Regions from separate parts of the Homo sapiens genome. Here region 2 is linked to region 1. Evidence: promoter capture Hi-C in 16 types of primary human blood cells and fetal thymus (Javierre and others, 2016). All regions are on one chromosome and are shown on one strand. Each heading gives the region's core, a stretch centred on a gene start or on the middle of the fragment in contact. The rest is flanking DNA. Distances are from core to core; before and after follow the strand shown. Region 1 holds the start of NYNRIN (NYN domain and retroviral integrase containing). Region 2 overlaps CARMIL3 (capping protein regulator and myosin 1 linker 3).

The links. Contacts are between HindIII fragments. The CHiCAGO score rates a contact against its expected background, and 5 or more counts as called.
Region 2: a contact is called between a fragment that was not itself captured here and the fragment with the promoter of NYNRIN in region 1, in 2 of 17 cell types (activated CD4 T cells and neutrophils). The highest score is 7.0, in activated CD4 T cells.

Annotation. Positions count from the first base shown.
Region 1 is chr14:24,397,570-24,400,640 of GRCh38, forward strand. It overlaps NYNRIN (NYN domain and retroviral integrase containing), which reads left to right and starts at 1,434. Exons shown (of 9, transcript NM_025081.3): 1 at 1,434-1,517; 2 at 1,661-1,875. The coding sequence starts at 1,678. RefSeq lists a silencer at 1,488-1,577. The HindIII fragment of the contact is 6,271 bases long and covers 1-2,722 here.
Region 2 is chr14:24,064,406-24,067,476 of GRCh38, forward strand. CARMIL3 (capping protein regulator and myosin 1 linker 3) reads left to right here. Exons shown (of 40, transcript NM_138360.4): 33 at 553-868; 34 at 1,217-1,345; 35 at 1,993-2,059; 36 at 2,162-2,251. LOC105370412 (a long non-coding RNA gene) reads right to left here. Exons shown (of 2, transcript XR_943619.2): 1 at 2,691-3,071; 2 at 2,379-2,592. Among named protein-coding and RNA genes, the nearest start is that of CPNE6, 5.6 kb to the right of the region's middle. The HindIII fragment of the contact is 1,266 bases long and covers 943-2,208 here.

The DNA of each region.
Region 1 (3,071 bases), core at 184-2,683:
TGTGGCTCTCACCTTGTTTTGTAAGAGAAACTGAAGCACAATAAGGCAGGAGACTCTTTTGCTAAAAGGAGAGCAGTCAGAGGTGGAAAGAAGGCCTGAGATGGAGATTCAGCCCAAAGGCCTTCTGCTTCAAGGTACTAGAGAGGGGCAGGACAGGAGGACCAGGCAGGGTGGAGCAGAAGGCTTTGGAGCCAGAAGTAACACAGATCATTTTTTCCTTTTCTGGATTCCAATCTAGGGAGAAGAATCAGGTGTGCAGGATGAAGTAGGGTGTGGTGGGCTGAGTCCAGTCCAGACCAGGAGTAGCGTGAGCCCCTCCCTGCCCCCAATTGGGCCCCTTCCTTGCAGTGGGGTGCTCCTGGTCCCTTGCCTGCACACAAACACATAACGACCCTGCAGACCAGATGTTCCAGGGCAGGCCTAATTTAAAGTCTGATGCCTTTTGACCTCATAGGTATACTTGTGTCTATCAGACTGTGGCTCTTCGTTTTAGTCTGCAAAATAAGATCATTGAGGCCGAGACATAGGCCCTGCCCTCCACAGGGCCAGGTTCTATTCAGGCCCAAGGCTGTATAAGGTGTTCTTTGTGCTGGGGATGTGAGCAGAGCCTGGGTGTTGAAGGTGGTCCCCTAGCCCAGGGTTAGTCCCAGACCACTGATGCCAATTGGCTGACTGGTCAGGGGTTGCAGGAGACCTCGGAGGTTACATTACTGCCCGGACCCTCTATCTCCTTCCCCTCACAGCATAACTCAAACGTGCTAAAAAGGGCTTTCATAAACAACTCAAGTCTGAAAACTCTGGCAGCTCTCCCGCCCCTCCAGCCCTGGGGGGCTTCAGGAGGGTCTGGGCTGCCCGCCAGCTCCAAGCTGTCCCTAGACTTCAGTGGGGGGTGGGGAGTCAGTGCTGTTACCCTTTCCTTCCTGCTTGGTCTCCAGCCCAGAGTTTCCTTAGGCCCCGGCCTCCCTGGGCTCCCCACCCTACTCTACCTTAACCCTTTCCTCCCAGGGAAGGAGTGGCCGAGGTCCCCGTTCTCTTGGGACGCCTGGGAGAGGCTGTTGGGGGTAGGGGGGAGGTGGGGGTAAAGGGGAGAGATCCTTGTTCCAAATCTCAAAAAAGGGTGCCGGAAACCAATCCTCCCCTCCTTCCTCTTCCCCGTCCTTCCACTAGCAAGAGGGGAACGTGGAAGGAAACTAACTTTGACCCCTGGATTCTGGCTCTGGGCCCAAAACTTGGGTGGAAGGCAGAGGCCTCCGGGACCCTCCCCGCCCCCTCCTCCCCCCCGCCGGCTCCCCCGCCCTCTCCTCCGCGCCCCTTTAAGCTATCCAGCAGACGGAGACAGAGTTGATCCAGGAGGGGCTGGCAGAGTGCTGGAGGGGGAAGGCTGGGGGCGGAGGGAAGGGCGGCAGGAGCCCGACCGGTCCCACCCCTAGCTACAACCCCGGGCAGGAAGAGCTCGTCGCGGTAGCAGCGGTCGAAGGGGACCAAGCTCCAGAGGGCGGGCGCCCGAGCCGTGCGGGGTGGGTCCCGCCGCCTGGAGGAAGGAGGCCGTGCGGGGGGCGCGCCGCGGGGAGGAGGGGGCGTGGCTTAGGCGCCTGGGGCTGGGGGCTGGGGCGCCTGCCGCCCCGAGACCCGGGTGACACTATCGTCTCCTTCGTTCCAGGAGCGGGCGGGGCAGCCATGCTCCTGTCTGGGGGCGATCCTCCGGCGCAGGAATGGTTCATGGTGCAGACAAAATCGAAGCCTCGGGTGCAGCGGCAGCGGCTGCAAGTGCAGCGCATCTTTAGGGTCAAGCTGAACGCCTTCCAGAGCCGCCCGGACACCCCCTACTTCTGGCTACAGCTCGAGGGGCCCCGAGAGAACATGGGCAAAGCCAAGGTAAACAGCTTCTCCCCACCCCCACCCATCTCTTCCAGCCAGATCACTCTCTCCCCTTCCCCTGGGGAGATGGTGGTCCGCAGAGACACCACCCACCCTGCCCCCGCCTGGATTTGGCAGTGTGGCAGGCAGGTAGTGGGCCATCCTCCTGCCTCGCCAGATCAGCCTGCGCTCCTTCCATGCCCGCTTCTTCCCTCTGGTTCCTTCCTTTCCTGCCCCACCCCTTCCCTACGTGTCACCTCTGTCCCTCAAGTGCACTGAGAGCACCTCCTCGGTGTGTGTCCCCCATGAGACTTCCCTGGCCAGGGCCCCAGCATCAGCAGTCCCACTTTTCCATCTGGGGAGCAACTCAAGGCGCTGTATTTCTGTGGCCTCTGCAACACACCTCTTTGTTCTCCACCAAGACTGAAAGGCCCAGGTCCTTCTGTCTCCTTTTAAGTCTCCTTAAATCCTGGGCTGCCCCTTGGAGCCTCTGAGTACTAGGACTGGAGGGGCCTTTAGAGATGCTTCTAGAGTGATACTGGCATTTTACAGATGAGGTACTGGTGGCCAGAGAGGGTAAGGGGCCTGGCTGAGTGCTCAGAGTCAGGTAGGTGAGGTGGTGGGGGTTGGACCAGAACCCAGGGCTCTGGGCTCCCTGCCCCACACTCTTGATGCCACTCAGCTTCTTGCAGGGGTTCAGAGTGGGGTGCAGCCCTCTTCCCAGATTCCCAGCCCTTGGAGATGGGTGGGAGTCTGGGAGGAGGGCTATGGGTTTTCAGATGAAAGGGCTTGCTATGTGGGGCTGGACCTTGGACAGGCCAGATCACAGTGCGCCTCTCTTGCAATCTCCCTGGCTTCTCTCACAAGCTTTTCCTCCCCTTGGGCCTGTCAGATTCCACTGTCCCCCAAGGTTTACCTCTTCCCTTAGATTCCTTTATCTTACTTCTTCTTTGTAGGAATGCCACAGCCTCCCTCTGCCCCAGACCACCTTCCCCTTCACCACGCACACCTACTGCAGATGGGTTTATACCTATATCTTAATTGGTCAAGGCCATGGGTGGGGAGGCCCAGAACTCGGCCAGCCAGCCTGGTAGGCAGGCAGGCTGGGAAGTTCCTCCCTCAACCCCTCTGTGGAGCTGCTAGGTCAGCAGTTTTTCCAATTTTGACAGAGGTGCTAGGAGGGGGAAGGGGTGTCTTCCCAAAGAACATATGTA
Region 2 (3,071 bases), core at 326-2,825, 330 kb before region 1:
GTGTCCTCCCAGCTCCCATGGGAGTCTCCATAACAGCAGTGCCCAAAGCCAGTCTCTGTGAGAAATTTCCCCACATTCTCATCCTTCCCCACCCAGCCCTCAGGGCCCATGACCTCTGCGTCTTCCCAGGACAGCTGGGAAGAATGGGGCCAGAGTGAACCACCACAGTGGGGTTGGAGAGCAGGTGTGGATGAGAGGGAGGTGGGGGGCAGCCCTGGGACAGGATACCCATTAGTGGTGAGAGGCCCGGGGGGTAGTGTTCCCTGTCACTGTCCTGCAGACTGCCCAGGGTCTGTCCAGGAGGAGCCAGGTCACTTGGAGAAGCTGAGAGGAGTTGCAGGGGAGGTGCCTGGGAAGAAACATCAGTCTGCGGGAAAGGCTGCTGGAGGATTACAACGGGACAGGAAAGGCAAGGGCATCATCTCCCTGAGAACTAAGTGGAAAGGGCTGCAGTGCAGCAGGGGAGACCAGATGAGAGGAAAGCAGGTTTATCAGACCCAGGATTGAGCTTGCATCTGGCATTTGTTGCTAACTTACCCCGATTCTCCCCAGCTACCCCCGGACTCTGAGGACCGTGCGGCCAGGACTCTCGGAGGCACCGCTGCCTCCACTCCAGAAGAAGAGGCGCCGGGGCCTGTTTCACTTTCGCCGGCCCCGGAGCTTCAAGGGGGACAGGGGGCCGGGGTCCCCTACCACTGGACTCCTCCTCCCTCCACCCCCACCCCCTCCCCCGACTCAGGAGAGCCCCCCTAGCCCAGACCCCCCAAGCCTCGGCAATAACTCCTCTCCCTGCTGGAGCCCAGAGGAGGAGAGCAGCCTCCTCCCTGGATTTGGTGGGGGCCGGGGACCTTCCTTCCGCCGGAAGATGGTAAGTGAGGCAGGGGGTGCTGTGTCTTCCCCTTTTCCTGCCCCACACTTAACCCAGTCTCCTACCCCACCCCAAGCTTAATGGGAGAATGCTAGGACCCAGGGTTCTTGGGAACATTGGTCATTTCAATTCTCCTCTCCTTGAGAGTGGACTAAGACCCAGTGGCCAAGAGCATGCTGGGAGTGCTATATGCGAATGCAGGCGTTGGAAGGACTCTTCAGAGGGTCTCTGCAGGGCTTCCCCGTGGCTAGGGACTCAGTGAGGCAGGGGTCCTCCTGACAACTCCCTCACAGCCTGGGGAGCCCCCTTCGACTGGGAACTGCTAATAAATAAGAGACCTTGTTCTAGGGCACTGAGGGGTCAGAGCCAGGGGAGGGGGGCCCAGCCCCTGGGACAGCACAGCAGCCAAGGGTTCACGGTGTTGCCCTTCCCGGGTTGGAAAGAGCCAAGGGTTGGAGCTTCGATGGGAAACGAGAGGTGAGTGGAGCCTGGGACAACAAACTGTGGGTCCTGAGGGTATCTGTCCACCACCCTCTCCTTCCCACTCCCTCATCCCTGGTGGTTCAGTAGAGAAAGCAGATGCTTTGGCATTAGAAGATGTTAGCTGCTCTTCAGCCCCCACCACACACTTGCCGTGGAGCCCTGGACTGGTCACTTCACCTCCTGAAACCTCTCCTTCTTTACTGTAAAATGAGGGGTTATAAAAATACTTACCTCTAGAGCTCTGTTTCCCAAACAATGGTGACTTGATTATAACCTTTGCGACTGATTTTTACCTGAATTATTACTTACATAGTATTTTTATTTAAATTAACTCACCTTTTTTTAACTTAGGCTAGACCTAGACATTATCTTTAAAATCGCAGGCTTTTTGAATGAGTCGTGTTTTTTTCTACTACATGTAAAATACATATGTAACTATAAAGATGGAAGTATACTCATTTGTGTAAGCCATTTCTTGTGCCCCTGGGGAGGTATGGGTGCCACTCTTTGGGAAACAGTTTTAAGTGTCTAGGGACTAATGACATGAGAATGACATGGAGATGCTAGAGCAGAAGCCCTTTGTCAGCTGCAGTCCTGCCACAGAGGAGACTTTCTTACAACCTGACCCACTGTTCTTTCAGGGCCCAGGCCCAGACCAGGAGGGCAGCACCCAGGCCTGGCAGAAACGGCGCTCTTCAGACGACGCAGGTAAGAACAGTCACATTCAAAGCCCTTTTGGACCCCTCTCTCAGGGGTCAAATTTACCTTTTCCCTTTCTCCTCTCTTTCTCATCCCCTCTCTCTACTCCAGGGCCTGGATCCTGGAAGCCCCCACCACCGCCCCAAAGCACCAAACCAAGCTTCAGCGCCATGCGCAGAGCAGAGGCCACATGGCACATAGGTATGGAAAGCCTCTTTTCAGGCAGCAGTACTGAAAGCCCAGGGTGTGTCCAAAGAAACAGAAGCCCATGGCCCCTGTGCTGGGGAATTTATGGCCAAGGTGGGGCAGTGAGAAGTCAACACAGTGAAAATGTTTAAGGATATTTACAAAGCTATATCCAAAAGAGACAAACAACCCAATCCAAAGAAAGCTTCTACAGAACAAAAGCGGCTTCTCCAGTGTTGGCAAACAGGAGCGATGCTTTGTGGATGGCTCTGGCGAATTCTCCAGGGCAGGTGCAGCCTCTGGTCACCATTGGCACAGTGGCAGCCTCTGTAGACAAGGCTCCTCTCTGCACCTTGCTGGGAAGAGGGTGGGCAAGTCAAACTGCCAGCAAGTACCAGCTGTGCCAGGCCCACCTCAGATTCCAGCCTCCTCCAGAAGTCGTTTATCAACTCACCCTCAGCTCACGCAGAAAGGTGCCCCAAACATGGGCAAGAGCTCGCCTCGGAGGTCAGAAACCTGCAGTATTAGTCCTTCTCAGCCACCCGCGACCTTAAACAAGTCATTTACTTTCTGGCCCCATGACCGGAGGAGTAAAAGGGAGGGGATTATCCCAGGCATGACACTTCCTTTCTGCTGGCTTCAGAGCACCTTCCGCTTAGGGAGCCACTAAAGAAAAGCTGGTCAGCTCAGCATTCGCTCAGTCCAGCAGTTGCCAAAGGCCTGGACCATGACCCTCCAGCAATATTGACATAGACAAAATCTCTCTGTAGATGGAGACACCCCCTCAGCCTCTTTCACTCCCACCACCAGGCTAGGGCGTAAGGGCTGGAAAGAG